2 separate regions of the Homo sapiens genome follow, and region 2 is linked to region 1. The links are contacts of gene promoters, found by promoter capture Hi-C in human tissues and cell types (Jung and others, 2019). All regions are on one chromosome and are shown on one strand. The core of a region is centred on a gene start or on the middle of the fragment in contact, and the rest is flanking DNA. Distances in the headings are between cores, read along the strand shown. Region 1 holds the start of CCL2 (C-C motif chemokine ligand 2). Region 2 overlaps LOC107985038 (a long non-coding RNA gene).

Region 1 (4,693 bases), core at 250-2,749:
GCACTCAACAATGCCATTACTGACCACTTACTAGAAATAAAACAGTCATTTGTTGAATACAACCCGTTTCTTTTTACAAGTGTAGTGAAAAGTGTTTTCTTTCAAGAAACCCCATGCATTTATAGACATTGCCTCAGTGACCCTTTATGAAAGAAGTCACTAGTCTTTGTATGCCCATTGGGCAAGGGCACCGCAAGGCTCAGAAGGAGGAGGCAGTGGGCTAGGAGAATCGAGAGATCAGAATTTTAAACTCAGCCCAGCCATTAACATGCCTCAAGTACTCCTATCATATTTGTAAGAGACAACAGTTCACTGAAATGAATTCTAAGGTCTTTGGGTTTTTATCAGTGTGCTTCTGTAGTTTCTGAGGAAATCTAAGGCACAACTGAGGAATGAAGTCAGGCTTTCCAATTCCCGAAATACTCCTCCACTGCTTACTCATGTCCCTTGGAAATTAAGAAGGAAGCCAGGAGAATAGCTGCCATAACCAGGGATGAACTTCTTGTCCACTGCTGCCTGCTATGCTAGCAACAGCCTCCTAACTCATAATGACTTAGCCATGAGGAATGTTTCTAGATTCTCCTTTAGCTGTCTGCCCATTTGGAAGATGCTGAGGACAGAGAGAGGACCCAAGCAGGCAACTAGTTGGAGGACTTGTACACGTTTCCTTCCAGCAGTATGTCAGAGAGGTGGCAGCCCACTGGGGACAGGGCTGCCTGGGTTCTGTGCTCGAGGGGACCTTGAGCAGGCTATTTAACCCTTCTGTGCCTCAGTTGCCTGATCTATAACATGAAAATTAGCAATCCCTACTAGATAAAGTTGGGGAATTTACAGAGTTAATATTTGTAAAGGTCTGAGAATATTCCTGGCAGAGTAAGCACTCTGTGAGTATGACACTGGCATTTCTTCTGCAGCACTACATGCTGTCTATGCCTTTGTCCAAGTCTGAAACCCTAGAACTCTTAGAATTCAGTTCAATGTTTACACAATCCTACAGTTCTGCTAGGCTTCTATGATGCTACTATTCTGCATTTGAATGAGCAAATGGATTTAATGCATTGTCAGGGAGCCGGCCAAAGCTTGAGAGCTCCTTCCTGGCTGGGAGGCCCCTTGGAATGTGGCCTGAAGGTAAGCTGGCAGCGAGCCTGACATGCTTTCATCTAGTTTCCTCGCTTCCTTCCTTTTCTGCAGTTTTCGCTTCAGAGAAAGCAGAATCCTTAAAAATAACCCTCTTAGTTCACATCTGTGGTCAGTCTGGGCTTAATGGCACCCCATCCTCCCCATTTGCTCATTTGGTCTCAGCAGTGAATGGAAAAAGTGTCTCGTCCTGACCCCCTGCTTCCCTTTCCTACTTCCTGGAAATCCACAGGATGCTGCATTTGCTCAGCAGATTTAACAGCCCACTTATCACTCATGGAAGATCCCTCCTCCTGCTTGACTCCGCCCTCTCTCCCTCTGCCCGCTTTCAATAAGAGGCAGAGACAGCAGCCAGAGGAACCGAGAGGCTGAGACTAACCCAGAAACATCCAATTCTCAAACTGAAGCTCGCACTCTCGCCTCCAGCATGAAAGTCTCTGCCGCCCTTCTGTGCCTGCTGCTCATAGCAGCCACCTTCATTCCCCAAGGGCTCGCTCAGCCAGGTAAGGCCCCCTCTTCTTCTCCTTGAACCACATTGTCTTCTCTCTGAGTTATCATGGACCATCCAAGCAGACGTGGTACCCACAGTCTTGCTTTAACGCTACTTTTCCAAGATAAGGTGACTCAGAAAAGGACAAGGGGTGAGCCCAACCACACAGCTGCTGCTCGGCAGAGCCTGAACTAGAATTCCAGCTGTGAACCCCAAATCCAGCTCCTTCCAGGATTCCAGCTCTGGGAACACACTCAGCGCAGTTACTCCCCCAGCTGCTTCCAGCAGAGTTTGGGGATCAGGGTAATCAAAGAGAGGGTGGGTGTGTAGGCTGTTTCCAGACACGCTGGAGACCCAGAATCTGGTCTGTGCTTCATTCACCTTAGCTTCCAGAGACGGTGACTCTGCAGAGGTAATGAGTATCAGGGAAACTCATGACCAGGCATAGCCTATTCAGAGTCTAAAAGGAGGCTCATAGTGGGGCTCCCCAGCTGATCTTCCCTGGTGCTGATCATCTGGATTATTGGTCCGTCTTAATGACACTTGTAGGCATTATCTAGCTTTAACAGCTCCTCCTTCTCTCTGTCCATTATCAATGTTATATACCCATTTTACAGCATAGGAAACTGAGTCATTGGGTCAAAGATCACATTCTAGCTCTGAGGTATAGGCAGAAGCACTGGGATTTAATGAGCTCTTTGTCTTCTCCTGCCTGCCTTTTGCTTTTTCCTCATGACTCTTTTCTGCTCTTAAGATCAGAATAATCCAGTTCATCCTAAAATGCTTTTTCTTTGTGGTTTATTTTCCAGATGCAATCAATGCCCCAGTCACCTGCTGTTATAACTTCACCAATAGGAAGATCTCAGTGCAGAGGCTCGCGAGCTATAGAAGAATCACCAGCAGCAAGTGTCCCAAAGAAGCTGTGATGTGAGTTCAGCACACCAACCTTCCCTGGCCTGAAGTTCTTCCTTGTGGAGCAAGGGACAAGCCTCATAAACCTAGAGTCAGAGAGTGCACTATTTAACTTAATGTACAAAGGTTCCCAATGGGAAAACTGAGGCACCAAGGGAAAAAGTGAACCCCAACATCACTCTCCACCTGGGTGCCTATTCAGAACACCCCAATTTCTTTAGCTTGAAGTCAGGATGGCTCCACCTGGACACCTATAGGAGCAGTTTGCCCTGGGTTCCCTCCTTCCACCTGCGTTCCTCCTCTAGCTCCCATGGCAGCCCTTTGGTGCAGAATGGGCTGCACTTCTAGACCAAAACTGCAAAGGAACTTCATCTAACTCTGTCCTCCCTCCCCACAGCTTCAAGACCATTGTGGCCAAGGAGATCTGTGCTGACCCCAAGCAGAAGTGGGTTCAGGATTCCATGGACCACCTGGACAAGCAAACCCAAACTCCGAAGACTTGAACACTCACTCCACAACCCAAGAATCTGCAGCTAACTTATTTTCCCCTAGCTTTCCCCAGACACCCTGTTTTATTTTATTATAATGAATTTTGTTTGTTGATGTGAAACATTATGCCTTAAGTAATGTTAATTCTTATTTAAGTTATTGATGTTTTAAGTTTATCTTTCATGGTACTAGTGTTTTTTAGATACAGAGACTTGGGGAAATTGCTTTTCCTCTTGAACCACAGTTCTACCCCTGGGATGTTTTGAGGGTCTTTGCAAGAATCATTAATACAAAGAATTTTTTTTAACATTCCAATGCATTGCTAAAATATTATTGTGGAAATGAATATTTTGTAACTATTACACCAAATAAATATATTTTTGTACAAAACCTGACTTCCAGTGTTTTCTTGAAGGAAATTACAAAGCTGAGAGTATGAGCTTGGTGGTGACAAAGGAACATGATTTCAGAGGGTGGGGCTTACATTTTGAAGGAATGGGAAAGTGGATTGGCCCCGGTCTTCTCCACTGGGTGGTCTCCTCTGAGTCTCCGTAGAAGAATCTTTATGGCAGGCCAGTTAGGCATTAAAGCACCACCCTTCCAGTCTTCAACATAAGCAGCCCAGAGTCCAATGACCCTGGTCACCCATTTAGCAAGAGCCCAACCCCCATTCCTTTTCTCACAGACCCTGACCCCTGCATGCAATTCTTCCCTTAACATATTGCAACTGCCCCCTAACTGGGCTACCCACCCCCCAATCTGTACCTCTCCAATTAATACCCCAACCTGGAGTAATACAGACACTGCCAGTATTAGGAAATAAGGAAAGAGTTAATCACCATAGATAAGATGATTAGATTGAAGTTTCATAGAGATGATGAGACCTGAACTTATTATTTATGAATGAAGAAGGCTTTTCTAGGAAAATTATAGGATCATTAAGAAAGGAGAAGGAAGAGTGGGAGCAAATACCTGGAGGTAGAAATGGTGATGATGTGTACATCAAGCAGGGAGAAAACCAATGAACCAGATGCGAATTCGGGCCCACACCAATGTCAAGGGATGACAATTAGAAAGGAAGGTTGAGTCAAGGGATTTGAATGTTAGGGTGAAAAGTTACTACTCAACTCTGTAGGTTAAAAGGAAACGTTGAGAATCTTCAGTCCAATGAGGAGGGATGTGCCATGTTTAGAGATTCAGAGATAAGTTTCAGGAAATGTAACTTATAGATTTTATACATACACAGAGAAATACGGACTAGTGAGAAGCTATTGCCATGGTCCAAGCAAGAGATGATGAAGGCCTAAATATGGAGCCAAAGAGGCAGCAATGAAGAATGAGCCATGCAGGGTGAAATGCTGCATGTTGTAAATGGAGGAGAAAGACCTGTGACTTCAGATATGAAAACCTCATCTTCAACCCACATTTTAAGGGGGCAGCTTCCCTGAAACCAGAATGTGTTTCCCTCCATTACTATACCCCCATCCCAATCTCAGGCACCTGGAATCATCCATTTAAACAGATGAGCCTTCTATTCCTAAATAGCCACCTGAAGTGTGTATTCCTTTGCATGATATTTGTCCCACCTAAAGCATTCGACCTGCCTGGGCACCCACACCACGCCAACACTCAGGAAAGCAGATGTCTTGCTCTGTTGAATAAACT
Region 2 (5,129 bases), core at 836-3,335, 280 kb before region 1:
TAACCACCAGGCTCAGCGTTCTTACAGTTACTAAGTGCTTTCCCATTTGTAACCTCAGGCGATTTTCCCAACAATGCGGGATGGGGGATTAATGGTATCACCACCTCCTCCTTACAGATAAAGAAACAAAGTCTTCAAAGGTTGAATAATGTTGGGAACAACTATAAACTATAGACTAATAAATGTTAAGTTAATATTATCAATGTCATCAACATTATACACCTTACTTACCAAACATGTCACATGATGTCTTAAGGATGGAGAGTCATGCCTTGTCCATGTATGAATCCCCCAAAGGTCCCAAAAGAGAACTTGATGTACAGTAGGTGACCAATATACATTTGACGATTGATTTAGTTACTGAATGCATGACAGGAAGGACGATAGAAAAATACTCACATCCAGTCTCTCTGTGGGCTCTAAACTCTAAAAGAGTAGTTTCTGTTTCTTTAAAAACAAAACAAACAAAGGTCAGTATTGCCCAGAGCTCCAGTGATCTCTAGGCTTAGATTAATGGTCCGCTAGTTCTTTGCGTAGGACTGGTCCAGCTATGTGGTTTCTGACTATACAGCATGCTTTAAGGAGCATCAAGAAGCATTCTCTGTTTGGAAAAACAAAACAAAACAAAAAAATCCAAAAATCCTTTATTGCTTGAAATTTGCACCTTCCACTCCCTCAAGCTAAGGTGTGAAAAGCTCAATTAGTTGTCTGTGATCACACATCACGCCTTACTAAGGATTAGTTTATAAGACTAGCTCCTGCCACATGGCTAATCCTCAAAAAGAGAACACAGAACAGGTCACTTTTGATGAAGAATAAGCGTGTTAACACAAGCTTTAGGTCTCATAACACACTGTGGGGACTTGGGCCCCGTCGCAGACAATGAAAGAGTCCCAGCCAGCCAGCACTGGAGAAAAGGAGACTGCAAATGCAGACAAACCTTGCCAAGCTTCCTCCCTCTCTGGGTCACAGTTTCCTTCTGTGCAAATCAGAGACTGAGACTGAAAGAGGGATGTGCTGACAGAACTAACCCAGGTCAGGTGGTCAGCACCAGAGTTATGCCTAGGGCCAGCCCTGAATGTGGCACACCCACAGTGAGGGAATCTCTACCCAAAGAGGGGATGATCTGAATCTCTGCATCATCTCTTGGGCTTGGCTGCTAGAGTTTCTGGGCTGGAAGCAGGAGCAGAAACCTTCTCCACAGAGACTGAGGTGGAACACACAGAGCTCAGCTCTGAGTTGTAGTCCAAATCCCAGAAGCTACCAAAGGGCCAAGGGTTATTCAGCTGAAGGGATCAGAAGCAGATGCTAGGAGCCAAGGATTTAGGATCTAGGGAGAGCAGCCAGCACAACCCAGTGGAGACATCAACAGAGGGGCTGTGGTTCCTAGCTTCCCATTCAGGTGCAGGCGGAGGCAAGCTGCCATTGTTGGGGGCGGGTGGAGAGGATAGAAGCTGTGCTTAAAGAGCCCTGGCAGAATGGCCAAACCATGCTTCCTCCTGTAGCAATAGGCCCAGACTTGGGCAATTGAGTGCTTTTCTCACTGCCCAGCAGGGCAGGGATGCAAATTCCAGAGTGAAGATTGGGTAGGCAGGAGCGCTCTAACTTTCAATTACAGTGTCACACCAAATGGAACTCCGCAGCTCTCTCTCTACTCTGGGGTGTATTTGACTTTGAATCAAGCGACCTCCTGAACATATAGACACAGAGAGGAGTGGCTTGTTCCTGCTCACTCACCCCACCAGGCTGCCATGGGACATAAGCCACAGCCCATCGTTTACACACAGGCTTATTAAAGCAAATAGGATTTGGCCTAGATTGCAAACAGGTTCTCCTCTGGGTAAGCGTATTTGCTGTGATCCTTGGGGTGTTTCCTGTGGAGCACAGGACACCCAAACAGGGCCTGCTTGGTTGCCCTGGGCCTCAGGGATGCCTTGCCAGTCCCACTCCCCTTACCCCAGGAGAGCTCGAAACATTTGCTTAAGACATCTCCATGCATCATCCTCCCACCTGGTCCAGGGGAAGGAAAGTTCTGATTTTCCACCTTCTACTCTGTCCTCCAAAATTTCCTGCCTTTTTCCGTCCACTAATCCCCATTCACTCAGTCTTCTTCCCGGCTTCAGTTTCTTCAGCTGGGAAATGGGACGATTCTGTGAGATGCTTTCTTAGGTTTTTTTTTTCTCCTCAAACCTCCTGTGCTCTCTGGAAGCTCTGGGAAGTGGAAAGCAGTCTGGCTTGCAAGTCAGGAGCCCTGCAGTCTATTACCAAACTTCCCCTTTCCTGAATAGGTGACCATGAGTAATTCCCTCCCAATTCCCAAGTCTCAGTGTCTTCAGCTACAACGTTAAGGAAGCAGATTTAAAGATCTCTGAGCTCACTTCTCTTTGGTGTCTTACTCCAGCAGCCATTGTGCTTATGTGTGTGTATGTATGTGTGTACAACCTCAGCTGGCTTTGCCTGCCTGGCACCCCAGCCCTATCCCTGGATTTTTCCTTGGGCAGTCACCCTCCATCTGGCGGCATGCAGTCTCAGTGGTGGTATCCATCAAGGTATGCTGCCCGGCAGGTGGACAGGAGACTTAGGCAAGTCCAGCCAGCTTCTCTTTTCCTAGACACTGACCTGAATTGAGTGCTGTTAGGTGATAGGAACCTATCTATCCATCCATCCATCCATCCATCCATCCATCCATCCATCCATAGAGCCCTGCCACAAAGACAGTGCCCATGAATTCCTCCATCCTAGATACTCAGAGGTTCCTGATTCCTCTCTTTTGTGAGGCCACACCTATTTTAGCCTTAGTTCTGATTTTGTGGATTGCCCAGTATCCATCCATTCACATCTGTGTCTAAGTCCTACAAGTCTACTCGAATGTCATCTTTTAAATGATGCCTTCCCTGGTTTCCCTATATAAACTTGCAGCCCCACCCTCATCCCTCAGCTTTTCCTGTCTTCCTCTCCTGCTTCAATTTTCTCCATAGTACTTTATCATGTTTTAACAATTGTATCATCTAATTTACTTATTTATGTGGTGTGTTGGCCATCTCTCCCCACTAGAATGTAAGTTCCCTGAGGCCAGACATTTGTGTCTGCTTTATTCATTGGTATATTGCCAGTGCTCAGGATAGTGTCTGACACGTGGCAGGCACTCACTAAATATTTGTTGAATGAATGAATGTATGAAATCATGCTTGAAAGTTGACCTCAGTTGGTTTTGGCCACTAATCCTAATTGAGACCGTCTCCTGTTCTTCCCTGTGGATCCTTTCTCCCTCCCCAGGATGGAAGCCCCTTTGCTGATATGGGATGGCAAAGCCTGAACAGAAGCAGGGATCAGAGCCCAAATAAAGGGTTGGGCCTCCTGAGGTGGAGGCCCAGTCTAGTCCTCTTCCAGGGGAAGATGGCTCAATCTTCGCCCTCTATCTTCCTCTCTCCCCCTTTCAACCCCTTGTCCTAGACCCACCTCTGCAATCTGAACCACTTTCATTTAAGGAAACCCAAAGTCATGATCTGTTTTCTAGGAAAGTCAGAGCCAAAGACATGAACAGAAAAGAAAAAAAATGCTGACAAGTCTCAGTGGGCCAGGACCTGAAAATCAATTTGACACATCAATTTTTTGGATTTAATAACTCATGCTCCCATGGAATCAAGGTCATAAATAGTAAAGAGAGTTCCAGGCAAGCCTACCAAAATCTGTTTGACTCGGCTGGAGACCTTGATCTCATCTCTCTGTTCTGGTCCCATCAATAATTTCCTCTCCTAGATGCTTCCTCTCTTTGGTTTGGCTCCCACATCATTGCCCTGTCAATGATGTTTGCCTACATTTCTGTCTCTTCCTTCTGTGCACCTCACCTCTTCTTTCCCTGTTCATTGAATGAAGTCATCCCACAAGGCTCTGTTCTTTGCTGTCTGGGCTTCTCAGCCTACATTTAATCCTCAGGAATGTAAGTCTCTCCTTTTACGGTACCATGTTGAAGATTTCCCCAAATTCTTCTCAGTACCCCCAAAATCTCTAATCACTGGATGGCCTCCTCAACTGGAAATCTGGCTTATCCTTTGCCTATCTTCAGACCTCCCCTTTTTAAACTTCTCTGCCCTCAAATTGGATGGACGCTCTTGGATCATCTGCTCGAATGTCACGTTTTCAATGAAGCCTTCCCTGGTCTCCTTATATATTAATACCCCATTTACAGATGATCTTGGATCATTTACAGATCCAAGATCATCTGTAAATGGGGTATTAATCCCTTTCTCAAATAACTGTTGAGTGAGTTTAACAATATGATTCATCTAAAGGTGCTTTGAAATGGTACGAGTGTTACTTGGTCTAATTCAGTCTCAGACTTCTGGTTGTGGAATGCCTGCCCTTTATTTCCATAGTCTCATATAGTGAGTCCAGCTGTACACTCAGGGACTTGTGTCCCCATCTCCACAATAACCTGCCCAGGCCTGACCCCACATTCCAACTCTGGATTTTCATCGTGCATGGACTCCTTGTATGAGCCCAGCCTAGTTTTCCAACTCACCTGTGCTCCACCCTCCCAATTGCTCTCTTCCAACTGGAGAGCCCACGTGGGCCCAAGGAAGGCAGGGAGGAAAGTGACATTGTTGAGCCCTGTGCCCGGTGAAGTACGCATGTGAGCTCATCCAATCTGCAGCCACTCCAGGAGGAGGGCATCATTATCCTCAATAAACAGATGAGCAAACAGAGGCTCATGGAGGGTCAGCGACGTGTCCAAGGTCACTGACTCATCAGAAGGCTACTTTGTTCTCACTCCATCAGGTGGCCCAAGGAGAAAGGTAAGACAGAAAGAGGAAGCCACTAGGACAAACTTGTTCCTGCTGTGATACCCTTAAACATCAAATCATGAGATTAGGTCGTCCTGGGGGTGGGTGTGGGCAGGGGAGGGAAAAGTGGCTATACCGAAGCAAGGATGGAGGGAGGAGGGTGCCTGTGATCAGCCATGCTAATTTTGACATTTTCCTGTGCGTCTGCTTGTCATCATCAACTTATAATTTAACCTCGTTGTGGCGATGCCTCTGGAATGTCAACAAGGCTTGCTGGAATTTCATTACAGCCAGGCAGCTGGCCCCTGGTATTTCTGATACAAATGATGTGCAGCTGCATTCTGG

The links. Contacts are between HindIII fragments. The study calls those that stand out against the background at their distance.
Region 2: a contact is called between a fragment that was not itself captured here and the fragment with the promoter of CCL2 in region 1, in 1 of the 25 tissues and cell types used here (mesendoderm cells).

The regions. Positions count from the first base shown.
Region 1 is chr17:34,253,786-34,258,478 of GRCh38, forward strand. CCL2 (C-C motif chemokine ligand 2) reads left to right here and starts at 1,500. Exons shown (of 3, transcript NM_002982.4): 1 at 1,500-1,640; 2 at 2,437-2,554; 3 at 2,937-3,418. The coding sequence starts at 1,565. The coding sequence ends at 3,042. RefSeq lists enhancers at 222-1,196, 1,197-2,171. The HindIII fragment of the contact is 9,151 bases long and covers 1-4,693 here.
Region 2 is chr17:33,971,951-33,977,079 of GRCh38, forward strand. All of the region lies in intron 1 of LOC107985038 (a long non-coding RNA gene), which reads right to left. It also overlaps a transcript of ASIC2 not described here. Among named protein-coding and RNA genes, the nearest start is that of LINC01989, 210 kb to the right of the region's middle. The HindIII fragment of the contact is 6,895 bases long and covers 1-5,129 here.